Linked DNA regions of Homo sapiens: all the other regions are linked to region 3. The links are contacts of gene promoters, found by promoter capture Hi-C in blood cells and fetal thymus (Javierre and others, 2016). All regions are on one chromosome and are shown on one strand. Each heading gives the region's core, a stretch centred on a gene start or on the middle of the fragment in contact. The rest is flanking DNA. Distances are from core to core; before and after follow the strand shown.

Region 1 (3,319 bases), core at 85-2,584, 330 kb before region 3:
TTAGTTCTTTACGGAATCTCCACACTGGTTTCCATAGTGGCTGTACTACTGTACATTCCCACCAGCAGTGTAGAAGTGTTCCCTTTTCACTGCATCCATGCTAACATCTATTATTTTTTGATTTTTTGATTATGGACATTCTTGCAGGAGTAAAGTGGTATTGCATTGTGATTTTGATTTGCATTTCCCTGATCATTAGTGATGTTGAGCATTTTTTCATAGTCTATTGGCCATCTGTATATCTTCTTTGGAGAACTGTCTATTCATGTCCTTAGCCCACTTTTTCATGGGATTTTTTTTTCCTTGCTAATTTGAGTTCATTGTAGTTTCTGGATATTAGTCCTTTGTCGGATGTATAGATTGTGAAGATTTTCTCCTACGCTTTCGGTTGTCTGTTTACTCTGCTGACTCTTCCTTTTGCTGTGTAAAAGCTCTTTAGTTTAATTAAGTTCCAGGTATTTAACTTTGTTTTGATCACATTTGCATTTAGGTTCTTGATCATGAAATCCTTGCCTAAGCCAATGTCTAGAAGGATTTTTCCGATGTTACCTTCTAATAATGTTTATAGTTTCAGGTCTTAGATTTAAGTCCTTGATCCATCTTGAGTTGATTTTTGTTTAAGGTATGAAATGAGGATCCAGTTTCATTCTCTTACAGATGGCTTGCCAGTTTTCCCAGCACCATTTGTTGAATAGGGTGTCTGTTCCCTTTTTTGTTTGCTTTGTCAAAGATCAGTTGGCTGTAAGTATTTGGGTTTATTTCTCAGTTCTCTATTCTGTTCCACTGGTCTATGTGCCTATTTTTATACCAGTACCATGCTGTTTTGGTGACTGTGCTCTTACAGTACAGTTTGAAATCAGGTAATGTGATGCCTTCAAATTTTCTCTTTTTGCTTAGTCTTGCTTTGACTATGCAGACTCTTTTTCGGTTCCATGTGAATTTTAGGATGGTTTTTTCTAGTTCTGTGAAGAATGACGGTAGTACTTTGATGGGAATTGCACCGAATTTGTAGACTGCTTTCGGCAGTATGGTCATTTTCGCAATACTGATTCTACCCACCTATGAGCATGGGATGTGTTTCCATTTGTTTGTGTCGTCTATGATTTCTTTCAGCAGTAAAAGCACATATTCTTCTGTATTTACAAAGAAATATATGCTCAATGCAGAAAACAAAGAAAACCAATACAAAGAGGTAAAGAAGACAAAAACCAAAACCCTACAATCCAGATGTAACTAGCTACTATCAATGTTTTTTAAAATTCAGATATTTACATGCAATGAAAGTCAAAGGTTTTATGTGTACGATTCCCTGCTTTTTGACAAATACATATACTCTAATCAATATACAGAACATTTTTCCAAAATCTCACTCTTGAAGTTCCCTCCCAGTCACATTCTTTGTCAGGTAAATGTATTGCAAAGAGCTTCTCCCAGTCTGAAGCTGGTCTTTTCATTTTTAAAAATGTCTTTTAATCAGGAACAGTTTTTAATTTTGATTAAGTCTAATTAATTTTTTATTTTATAGTTAATGTTTCTTATATGCTCTCTAATAAATCCTTCCCTACTCCCAAGGTTGTGAAGATATTCTCTTACTTTTTGCTAGAAACTTTACAGTTTTAACTTTATATTTAAATATATGATCCATCTCAACCTGATAAAGGTATCTAAAAAAAAACTACATATTCACTGTAAGATTAGAAACAAGACAAGGGAGATGTCTATTCTTACCACTTCTATTCAACCTCATGCATAAAAGAATGAGGCAAAAAAGAATAATAATTTATAAAGAATCATAAGGAAGAAGAAAAACCTCCATTTGCCCTGAAATGATGAAATGATTGTGTGTAGAGAAAACCTAGAGAAATTTACACATGCACAAACACTAATAAATAAGCAAACAGCATAGTTACAGGCCACGTGGTTGGTGCATAAGAATCAGTTACATTTCTATAACCCATCAAAACCACACCAAAAACTACAAAACATTTCTGAGAACAATAAAGACCTAAATAAACAGACACAATACCATGTTAATGGGTTGGAAGATTCAATATTATTAAGGCGTATCTAAAATTTATATGTATAAGCTGACTCTGAATTTATACAAAATGCAAAGGATCGAGACAGGTCAAAACAATCCTGGAAGAGAAGCACAAAGCTGGAAGACTGACACTACCCATTCAAGGCATGCTATACAAAGCTATAGTAACCAGACCTTTAGAGCAAGCATTGACCAAAAGAGGGATGGAGCAGATGGAGTCCACAAACAAACCCCCATACATTCTGTCTACTGATGGACAAAGGCAAGCAACTGAATAGGTGGGGGAACAAGTCTTCTCGATAAATGGTGCTGCAGCAACAAGATAAAAGTATATTTCAAAAAAACACCTCAGGCCTACCACATACTGCTGACATTTTGGCACTGCTCTTTTGCTAAATATATTTTTATTTTTTGTTTTTATTTTTTTGAGACAGAGTCTCGTTCTATCGCCCAGGCTGGAGTGCAGTGGCGCAATCTCAACTCATTGCAACCTCCGCCTCCCACGTTGAAGTGATTCTCCTGCCTCCGCCTCCCGAGGAGCTGGGACTACAGGCGCGTGCCACCGTGCCCGGCTAATTTTTTGTATCTTTAGTAGAGACAGGGCTTCGATATGTTGGCCAGGATGGCCTCAATCTCCTGACCTCGTGATCTGCCCACCTCGGCCTCCCAAAGTGCTGGGATTACAGGCGTGGGCCACCATGCCCGGCCTGCTAAATATGTTTTGTAAAAAGAGGAGAGATTATAACACCAGGATTCTGTTTCTACTCTGCTTTCTTTCGGTTTTCTGTGGGGATTTTTGGTAATATTTTGAAGTGATGCTTTAAAGTTACTTCACCACAAATTTCTCACACTCATCTCTATCCTCTACATGATGCTCCCAAACTGCTTTTAAACCTAATCTTCTACCATCAATTTTTAGTTTCCCCATTTGTTAGGAAAACACAAGCAGTTAGGGCTTCTTACACCTTGTTCTGCCTCCAGGATTTAGTCTGAGTAGTGCCCCATACTCTCAACATCATCCAAATATTCTTTACTGACAAAGTCCCTTTCAGTTTTTTATAACATCTTTTCTGAGTCCTCTATTCAAATATAACATTCTTCCTTTTAGCCCTCACATATCTTCCCTTTTCTCACTTATTATTAACGAACCACACTTAGATGAAAAAAAAGATATTTGAGCAGTCTATTCATTCAGTCACTATTCAGCAGGCCACAGATTGTTCTACTGGGGTGCCAGGGAAGCTAGACAGGTCAAGGCTCTGCCCTTAAGTAGCTGGC
Region 2 (3,522 bases), core at 222-2,721, 350 kb before region 3:
CTGAAATCTTGAAGTCGTCAATGAGCTGGACCACCATGTCTTTGTTTGGGTCACTGGGATCACTTTCTCGAACCTATGCCAAGAAAAATGAATGCAAGAACACAGGAGTTTGAGACAAAGCATGTTTTCCCATTATAACACCAATACTGTTTAAATAAAAGTATATTTTAAAATAAAAAATTCATCACAAAGTTATAAAAAATAAACTTTATTTATTTATTTATTTATTTATTTTTTGAGACAGAGTCTTGCTCTATCGCCCAGTCTGGAGTGCAGTGGTACGATCTCGGCTCACTGCAACCTCTGCCTCCCAGGTTCAAGTGATACTCATGCCTCAGCCTCCCAAGGAGCTGAGATTACAGGTGCCCACCACCATGCCTGGCTATTTTTTATATTTTTAGCAGAGATGGGGTTTCACCGTGTTTGCCAGGCTGGTCTCGAACTCTTGACCTCAAGTGATCTGCTCGCTTTGGCCTCCCAAAGTGCTGAGATTATAGGCATGAGCCACCGTGCCCAGCCAAACTTGACTTTAATTTAGTATTACCCAGAAAAATCTTTCTGTAAAATTTTAAGTCATTAAGTTTTCTTATATCATTCACATTTTTAAAGTACTTACACATTTGAGCAATTTTATTTCATCCAAGGCTGTCTCCGTATAATGCTGGGCACTTTTTACAACTTTCATTGCAACAAATCTTTTCCCCCTAAAAGAAAAAACAAAAAAAGAGTCTATTTATCTATATTATCAGTAGAAAGAATCACTGGTATCCAGGTTGAGCATCCCTAATTGGAAAATGTAAAATCCAAAATGCGCCAAAACCTAAAACATTATGAGTGTGTCAACACGATGCCACAGTGTAAAATTCCACCTCTGACTGCAATCAAAACTCAGTAAAAGATTTGCATGTTGCACAAGATTATTTAAAATATCGTATAAAATTGCCTTCAGGGTATGTGTATATGGTGTATATGAAATATAATGAATTTTGTGTTTAGATCTGGGTCACATCTCCAAGATAGGTCATTGTGTATATACACAAATATTCCAAAATCCAAAACACTTCTGGTCTCAAAGCATTTCAGATAAGGGATATTCAACTTGTAATGAGATCTATCCAATACACAGAAACATAAGCTTTCCTTTAAAATAGTACTTTTCAAATGGTGGGGCCACATTAAATAGTAGTATGGGTCAAGACAATCTCTTTTATGTTTTGTTTTGTTTTTTCCCTAATTAAAATAAGACTAGATAAACATCAGAGTTATCACGAATATTACACACCAACCTAATAGTGAAAACCATTCTCTTTTAACACTTTTGTTTCAGTACACACACACACACACACGCACCAAATGTGTGTGTGTGTGTGTGTGTGTGTGTGTGTGTGTGTATGGAGTAGCAATGAAGTTTCTTACTATGGGTCATGGCTTTGAAAAGTTAAAAATGACTGATTTGAAACGCCTATACTATACATTATGTTTGTCTGATATGGATGAATTACTAGAAAAATAATATAATCCCAGTGTAAAACAATTTCAATGAATTAACTTTGAAATAAAGCTGGAAGCAAGTAATATTTTAAGATTTCAAATGAACTTCAAACTAAGGCAGGGGGCAGGAAGGAATCTAGCCAGCTGAGGCAGGCCTGTGCTAAGCACTTCACATACCTCAACAAAGCAGTGGTGACCCTCAGCCATACCTTCTTAGAACACAGATGTTGAACTACTCCAGGAAACAAATGCACAAATGACAAAGAACACTTACTGCATATCCCAGCACAGCCAGACAGTAGAGAAGTGCCCCCATCCAAGCTTTCTAATAACATGATACCGGCCATTGAAGAGGTCTCCAATTTTCACTGGATGATATCCACCTTAAAAAACAAGAAAGAAAGAAAAAAATTCAAAATATTCGAAAAGTAGTAATAAACATTTCATCTCTTTTGTCATTCTTGATGTCATTAAAGAAAGCTCTACATAATACATGCAGACTAAAACATGTTTAATAATACAACATTTTTTTCAGGAATATCTTTCAACAAGAAAAAGTGTTGGCTGGATGTGGTGGCTTACACCTGTAATCTCAGCACTTTGGGAGGCCAAGGCAGGTGGATCATTTCAGATCAGGAGTACGAGACCAGCCTGGCCAACATGGTGAAATCCAGTCTCTACGAAAAATACAAAAATCAGCAGGGCATGGTGGCGAGCACCTGTAATCCCAGCTACTTAGGAGGCTGAGGGGAGAGAATCACTTGAAACTGGGAGGTGGAGGCTGCAATGAGCCTGAGTGAAAAGTGTGCGACTGCAATCCAGACAGCCTGACCAAAAAGTGTTCTATGAATTCCTATTAGACTTCTTGTTTTAATTTAATTTAAAGAGGCAATGAACCATCTAGCACACCGTAATGATAACTTGAGGTTCTCTATTTACTTATTTATTTTTAAGACAGGGTCTCACTCTGTTGTCTAGACTGGAGTGCAATGGCATGATCTCAGCTCAATGCAACCTCTGATTCCCAGGCTGAAGAGGTCCTCCCACCTCAGCCTCCCAGGTAGCTGGAACTACAGGCACACACCACCATGCCCAGCTAATTTTTGTATTTTTTGTAGGGACAGGGTTTCACCACATTACCCAGGTTGGTCTTGAACTCCTAGGCTCAAACAATCCGCACATCTCCCCTCCCAAAGTGCTGGGATTATAGGCATGAGCCACCACACCTGGCCAAGGTTCTGTATTTCAATCTAGGTGTGTACGTTATGCACATACCAGCTCTTGGTATTTAAAGACTTTTTTTCTCCTAAACAAGTTAAATTCAAATCTTTTTGGATATGTGCAAGAAAACTGACCAAAATAAACAATGTTTACTCTGTATAATTCTGCATACATTAATGGTTTATTAATAACTAGAAACTGTACAATGATGTCTTAATTTACCCTCTAACAGGGCTTGTTCCTCTCATCACTCTTCTGCCAACTCCTAACTCCTGCCTGGAAACATTCCTCACAAATGAAGAAATGAGGCCGGGCACGGTGGCTCACACCTGTAATCCCAGCACTTTGGGAGGCCAAGGCGGGCAGATCACCTGAGGTCTGGAGTTCAAGACCAGCCTGGCCAACACGGTGAAACCCCATCTCTACTAAAAATACAAAAAATTAGTCAGGTGTGCTGGCGAACTCCTGTAATCCCAGCTACTCGGGAGGCTGATGAAGAAGAATTGCTTGAACCCAGGAAGCAGAGGTTACAGTGAGCCAAGATCAAGCCACTGCACTCCAGCCTGGGTTACAGAGTGAGACTCCACCAAGAAAGACAAGAAAGACAAGAAAGAAAGAAAAGGAAAGAAAGGGAAGAAAGGGAGGAAGGAAGGAAGGAAGGAAGGAAGGAAGGAAGGACGGGAGGGAGGGAGGGAGGGAGGGAGAGAGAGAGGGAGAGAAAGAGAAAGAAAGGAAGAAAGAAAGAAAGAAAGAAAGAAAGAAAGAAAGAAAGAAAGAAAGAAAGAAAGAAAGAAAGAAAGAAAGAAAGAA
Region 3 (3,370 bases), core at 450-2,949:
ATTAGCTGGGCATGGTGGCGTGCACATGTAATCCCAGCTACTCCGGAGGCTGAGGCAGGAGAATCGCTTGAACCCAGGAGGCTGAGGTTGCAGTGAGCCAAGATCGTGCCATTGCACTCCAGCCTGGGTGATGGAGTGAGACTCCGTCTAAAAAAAATAAATCAAAAAACAAAGATATGTTCAAGGCCGAGTGTGGTTGCTCAAGCCTGTAATTCCAGCACTTTGGGAGGTCAAAGCAGGAGGATTGCTTAAGGTCAGGAGTTTGAGGCCAGGCTGGGCAACACAGCGAGACCCTGTGTGGTGGCACATGCCTATAGTCCCAGCTACTTGGGAGGCTGAGGTGAGAGGATTGCTTGAGCCCAGGAGTTCAAGGCTGCAGTGAGCGATGATCACGCAACTGCACTCCAGCCTGGGCAACAAGAGCAAAATTCTGTCTCAAAAAAATTAAAAAAATAAAAATAAAAAAACCAAAAACATGTTCACAAGGAGTTGTTAAGTACGTACTGTTGGCTACTTTCCTAATGTTTGAACCTAACAATTGCCTAACCAACCCCTTTTCAATAGTGTTGTACAGTCTGATTTTCGACAGATCCCTCAATAGTCGAGGCTCCCCCAGGCCAATGGGGCATAGTCATTTCATAGATGATTAGAGGCTTGGGGATGGGGGGGAGGGAACCTTAGTAACCCTTTATTTTTGGAATGGAAAAAAAAAGTAGTCTGACGGGACCAAATATTTTAAAAACTAAACTCTTTGCCAACCCTACTCGGCAGGCAACGAAGGTGTGCTTCTAAACACCTCTGCGCAGGGCTGACGAGGAGGACTCGAATTTCAGCTTGCACAGCAGCACCTCCATCCACTCGTTAAGCATTCACCCAGCTTGAGGGCTGGAGAAAGCACTCTGAGTCTGCAGCCCGTCCACTCCTACTCTGGGAAATGCATACAAAGCAAGCAGTCCCCAGAGCCCGCGTGGCGCCTAGTAGGCTCCCAGTGAGCGGCGACGCAGGACACAGGGGTGGAACACGTGGGCTGGACCCACAGAAGGCAGGCGCGGCGAAGCAGTGGCACCGTGAAGGGCTTCAGGGCCAGTGTTCCTCTGACGGAGGGACAAGAGTTTAGGGAGCGTCCGGGGCAAAGAAAGGGAGGAGTGGGAAGGGGGCCCCCGGGGGACAGCGCCGCGCGGGGAGGAGGGGAGCGCTCGGGCGCGGCGCCTCCGGACGACTGGCCGGGCAGAGCGGAGCGGGGAGCGGGGAGCGGAGAGCGGCGCCTGCACCGCCGAAGCGCAGGACCCACTGGGTTCCAACCGTGCTCCCGCTGGCACGATCCATAATGGAGGCGCCGCGGGCTCTGACCACTGCGGGGCCGCCTTCCCAGTCCGCCTTCCCAGTCCGCACTGCCTCTTGGGGCGGGGCCCTGGGGCTGGGGCTGGGGCCAGGGCCAGGCCGAGGAGCCCCGGCGGCCGCGGGGAGGCCGCGCACTTACCCGGAGCCTGGGAGCGCGGGCGCGGCGTGAGCTGGGCGGCGAGGTGGCCAGCGCTCTGGTTGGGACGCAAGAGAGCGGCGAAGGCCACTTGGATGAGCCAGCGGCTAGGGCGGCCAGGCAAAAGCAGCGCTTTCCGCGCGGAGGACCAGATGCGCTCCAGCCGACTCACCGGCGGCCGGGCTCGCACACGTGCGGCGCAGCGACGCGCCGCGGCCCGACTGGACCCGCCCCGGGGGCGGAGTCCGCTCCCTGCCGCCGGCCCCGCCCCCGGCCCACCCACTCGGAGCGGCCTGCAAGCCAGGGAGCGCCCCAACGCGGACTCCCAGCCTACGCGCGTTCACCCTGGACCTTCCTCGCGACCGCGCCTGAGTCGCACCAGCGGCAGAGAGCGATTTCACCAAGCATCTAAGAGTTCTTTAGATCTTTAGGAAGTCTAAGGCAGCGATTGCCTCCTTTGGTGTTATATTCTAAGTGTTTCCTTCACATAGTTGTGGCCCTTTCACGTTGCACCGACCACGCAGTTGACAATAATGGAAAGAGAATCACTTTAGGGACTAAATATTGTTCTACATTTGATCCTGGGAATGTAGTGGATCTAAAAGCACCATCTTCCTACTTCTTACCGCTCTGGCTTGATGGCTTGCCATAGGATCTGCTTCAAGAAACCGGATCATAGGTTTTTTTTGTTTTGGTTTGGTTTGGTTTTGACAGAGTCTCGCTCTGTCGCACAGGCTGGAGTGCGGTGGCGTGAACACAGTTCACTGCAGCCTCGACCTCCCAGGCTCAAGCAATCCTCCCACTTCAGTATCCCAAGTAGCTGGGACTACAGGTGCATCCCACCGCACCCAGGCTAATTTTTTTGGGGGTGGGGGGTAGAGACAAGATTTCACTATGTTGCCCAGGCTCTAATAGTTTTTTTGCTTTTTGTTTGTTTGTTTGTTTTTTGAGACGGAGTCTTGCTCTGTCGCCCAGGCTGGAGTGCAATGGCGCGATCGCTGCTCACCGCAACCTCCGCCACCCGGGTTCAAGCGATTCTCCTGCCTCAGCCTCCCGAGTAGCTGGGATTACTGGCGCACGCCACCATGCCCGGCTTATTTTTTGTATTTTTAGTAGAGTACGGGGTTTCACTATGTTGGCCAGGCTGGTCTCGAACTCTTGACTTCGTGATCCGCCCGCCTCCGCCTCTGTGTTGAGATTACAGGCGTGAGCCACCGCTCCCAGCCTCTAATAGTTTTTCCGTTTTGTTTTATTTTGTTTGAGAGAGAGTCTCACTCTGTTGCAGGGTTCAAGCGATTCTCCTGCATCAGCCTCCCGAGTAGCTGGGCCTACGAGTGCTTGACATCATGCCAGACTAATTTTTTTGACGGGGTTTTTGCCTGTTGGCCTTGAACTCCTGACCTCAAGTGATTTGCCTGCCTAGGCCTCCCAAAGTACTGGGATTATAGGCATGAGCCACCATGCCCTGCCCAATTTGTTTTTTTGTTTTGTTTTTTACACAATGAAATATACTATTACCGGCCGGGCGCAGTGGCTCACGCCTGTAATCCCAGCACTTTGGGAGGCCGAGGTGGGCGGATCATGAGGTCAGGAGTTTGAGACCAGCCTGGCCAACATGGTGAAACCCCGTCTCTACTAAAAATACAAAAAATTACCCAGACGTGGTGGCACGCGCCTGTAATCCCAGCTACTTGGGAGGCTGAGGCAGGAGAATCGCTTGAACTCAGGAGGCGGAGGTTGCAGTGAGCTGAGATCGCACCATTGCACTCTAGCTTGGGCAACAAGATGGAAACTCTGTCTCAAAAAAAAAAAAAGAAATATATTATTACCATACAATTCAGCAATTACACTCCTTGATATTTACCTAAAGGAGTTGAAAACTATGTTCACACA
Region 4 (3,558 bases), core at 17-2,516, 370 kb before region 3:
GAGACAGAGTCTCGCTCTGTCACCCAGGCTGGAGTGCAGTGGCACAATCTTGGCTCACTGCAACCTCCGCCTCCCAGGTTCAAGCAATTCTCCTGCCTCAGCCTCCCAAGCAGCTGGGATTACAGGCGTATGCCACCACGCCTGGCTAATTTTTTTTGTATTTTTAGTAGAGACGGGGTTTTACCATATTGGCCAGTGGTCTCGAACTCCTGACCTTGTGATCCACCTGTCTCGACCTCCCAAAGTACTGGGATTACAGGCGTGAGCCACCACACACGGCAACTACCACCACTATTTAAATGACAACATTTTCATTGCTCCAAAAAGAAACAACATATTCATCAGCATTCACTTCCCATCTCTCTCCTACCCCTTCTAACCCTTAGCAACCACTAATCTACTTGCTGATTCTGGACATTTCCTATAAATGGAATCATATAAAGTATTTTTTTGTAACTGGCATAATGTTTTCAAGTTTGACTCTTGTGCAGCATGTATTAGTACTTCGCTTATTCTTATTGGCAAACAGTATTCCACTGTATGGAGATACAACATTGTGTTTATCCCTTCACCTCATGAACATTTGGGTTATTTTCACTTTAGGGGCTATAAAAATAATACTGCTATTCACACTCGTGTATACATTTTTGTGTGAACATACTTTTTTTGAGGGGAGGTATATACCTAGGAGTTACCGTACTTAGGTCATATGGTGCCTCTATATTTAGCTTTTTGATGAACTGCCAAAGTGTCTTCCACAGTGGCTGCACCATTTTACATTCCTATCACCAATGTATGAGGGTTCCAATTCTTCGCCCTGAACAACACTTACTATCGTTTTTTACTTTATCCACCCAAGTGGATATGAAGTATCTTGTTGTAGTTTTGATCTACATTTCCCTGATGGCTAATGATGTCCATACATTTTTAACACTGCAAGAGAAGGGGGGCTTGATTTAAATAGAAAATAGCCTTGGTATCTAGACAACCCTACAGCATTATACTAAAAGAAAGTGATGAACCAAGATATTCATATTTCTCATATTAAAACAATCAAAAACTTACAGTGTCAGTGACCTAAATACAAGGTCAGTGTTTTTCTATAATTATTTCCACTGGAGAATAATTTTTTCAATTATTTCCATAAACAAAATTTATTTTTACAAAACAGATCATGTTCTCATATAAGCATTAGAAATTCCAAATGTTAAGCAAATATTACATCAATGACCATTCAAACAATGAATTGAATAGGCATTTTGTTCACAAGAGACAGGAAGTGTTATATGTTTCACATCATCCAATGTAGGGAAAAGAGAGATCCGACTGTTACTGTGTCTATGTAGAAAGGAAAGACATAAGAGACTCCATTTTGAAAAAGACCTGTACTTTAAACAACTGCTTTGCTGAGATGTTGTTAATTTGTAGCTTTGCCCCAGCCACTTTGCTCCAGCCACTTTGACCCAACCTGGAGCTCACAAAAACATGTGTTATATGAAATCAAGGTTTAAGGGATCCAGGGCTCTGCAGGACATGCCTTGTTAACAAAATGTTTACAAGCAGTATACTTGGTAAAAGTCATCGCCATTCTCTAGTCTCAATAAACCAGGGGCACAATGCACTGTGGAAAGCTGCAGGGACCTCTGCCCTTGAAAGCTGGGTATTGTCCAAGGTTTCTCCCCATGTGATAGTCTGAAATATGGCCTCGTGGGATGAGAAAGACCTGACCGTCCCCCAGCCCAACACCCATAAAGGGTCTGTGCTGAGATGGATTAGTAAAAGAGGAAAGCCTCTTGCAGTTGAGATAGAGGAAGGCCACTGTCTCCTGCCTGCCCCTGGGAACTGAATGTCTCGGTATAAAACCCGATTATACATTTGTTCAATTCTCAGATGAGAGAAAAACCGCCCTATGGTGGGAGGTGAGACATGTTTGCAGTAATGCTGCCTTGTTATTCTTTACTCCACTAAGATGTTTGGGTGGAGAGAAACATAAATCTGGTGTACGTGCACGTCCAGTCATAGTACCTTCCCTTGAACTTAATTATGACATAGATTCTATTGCTCACGTGTTTGTTGCTGACCTTCTCCTTATTATCACCCTGCCCTCCTACTACATTCCTTTTTGCTGAAATAATGAAGATAATAATCAATAAAAACTGAGGGAACTCAGAGACCGGTGCCGGTGCAGGTCCTTGGTATGCTGGGCGCCAGTCCCCTGGGCCCACTGTTGTTTCTCTATACTTTGTCTCTGTGTCTTATTTCTTTTCTCAGTCTCTCGTCCCACCCGACTAGAAATACCCACAGGTGTGGAGGGGCAGGCCACTCCTTCAATCCAACACTGAAATATTCCCAGTTTAATCGACAGTGGAAGGCATCTGATCAACAGTAAGCTATTAGTAGTTAGCCTACTGTTAGTAGAAGTTAAAGTAGCATTATGAAGTGAGAGGGAACAAAGATTTTACAAGGAAAATGAAAACAGGAATACCTCTTAAAAACGATCAAAATCCCTACAAACATTTAAAACAACTTTACCTTACAGAGTATTTTTACATAAATTCACTGAATGTGCATCGCCTGAGCTCCTATCACATGCCATTATTCCAGGTGTTTGATATATAAAAGCTCCCAGGCTTCATGTTGCTTACAGTCCTCATATCCTCACAGAGGTTACCAATTCAGGACAGGAAATGAGTATGACGGGTGGGGTAATTGGCCAAAAAAAAAACCAAGATGAATCATGGGCATGGCAAATATGATTTAATAAGATACTGACAAGTTCCTAGTAAGTACCAGTGAAGTAGATAAAACTAGGATAAGATTTTAAGACATTTTTTGCCTTAGAATATTTACTGTTTTGGATAATACTGCAATTAGGATATGTTTAAATTACATTTAAAATGTCAAGGCCGGGCTCAGCCTTGCCTTGTAATCCCAGCCCTTCGGGAAGCCGAGGCAGGCAGATCACTTGAGGCCAGGAGTGCGAGACCAGCCTGGCCAACATGGCGAAACCCTGTCTCTACTAAAAACACAAAAAAACTGCACAGGCATAGTGGCACAGGCAAGGTAGCACACGCCTGTAATCCCAGCTACTCAAGAGGCTGAGGCACAAGGCGGAGGTCACAGTGAGCTGAGATCATGGCACTGCACTCCAACCTAGGCGACAGAATAAAACTCTGTCTAAAAGGAAAAAAGAAAAAAAGCAAATAAAATGTCAAAGGACCAATAGTAAGAAAGATAACATGATGTAAAATATTTCCATGGAGAACATGGTTATACTTTTGAAGGAAACACAATCCAATGGGCTCATGTTATTCAACGACATTCATGCATCTTCCTGGTGCAAACTGAATAATATGTGGAGTTCTATATCTGAACAACAAAAGAGATTCTGAAAAGTACAAGAAATTAATGGATAGGCACATTGATGATGTCCAGCCCATAGAGGTCAAAGGAATACGATTTTTGAAAAATCGTTTTCCAACTAAAATTGTATTTCGGTATCAAATACTATCTCAAGGTAAAAATGTCAGTATCTTTCTTTCCTAAAATATATTTGAC

What was found. Contacts are between HindIII fragments. The CHiCAGO score rates a contact against its expected background, and 5 or more counts as called.
Region 1: a contact is called between a fragment that was not itself captured here and the fragment with the promoter of PUS7 in region 3, in 1 of 17 cell types (neutrophils). The highest score is 7.7, in neutrophils.
Region 2: a contact is called between a fragment that was not itself captured here and the fragment with the promoter of PUS7 in region 3, in 1 of 17 cell types (naive B cells). The highest score is 5.4, in naive B cells.
Region 4: a fragment that was not itself captured here is called in contact with the fragment with the promoter of PUS7 in region 3 in 2 of 17 cell types (naive B cells and total B cells); the score reaches 7.7 in naive B cells.

The regions. Positions count from the first base shown.
Region 1 is chr7:105,192,600-105,195,918 of GRCh38, forward strand. All of the region lies in intron 3 of SRPK2 (SRSF protein kinase 2), which reads right to left. LOC124901718 (a long non-coding RNA gene) reads right to left here. Exons shown (of 2, transcript XR_007060466.1): 2 at 1-3,319. Among named protein-coding and RNA genes, the nearest start is that of KMT2E, 180 kb to the left of the region's middle. The HindIII fragment of the contact is 4,264 bases long and covers 1-3,319 here.
Region 2 is chr7:105,167,392-105,170,913 of GRCh38, forward strand. SRPK2 (SRSF protein kinase 2) reads right to left here. Exons shown (of 16, transcript NM_182692.3): 4 at 1,766-1,874; 5 at 617-704; 6 at 1-73. Among named protein-coding and RNA genes, the nearest start is that of KMT2E, 150 kb to the left of the region's middle. The HindIII fragment of the contact is 677 bases long and covers 1,134-1,810 here.
Region 3 is chr7:105,520,572-105,523,941 of GRCh38, forward strand. It overlaps PUS7 (pseudouridine synthase 7), which reads right to left and starts at 1,700. Exons shown (of 16, transcript NM_019042.5): 1 at 1,481-1,700. RefSeq lists enhancers at 1-212, 527-1,181, 2,465-2,965 and silencers at 724-869, 1,079-1,828. The HindIII fragment of the contact is 10,027 bases long and covers 1-3,370 here.
Region 4 is chr7:105,147,336-105,150,893 of GRCh38, forward strand. All of the region lies in intron 7 of SRPK2 (SRSF protein kinase 2), which reads right to left. Among named protein-coding and RNA genes, the nearest start is that of KMT2E, 130 kb to the left of the region's middle. The HindIII fragment of the contact is 5,598 bases long and covers 1-3,558 here.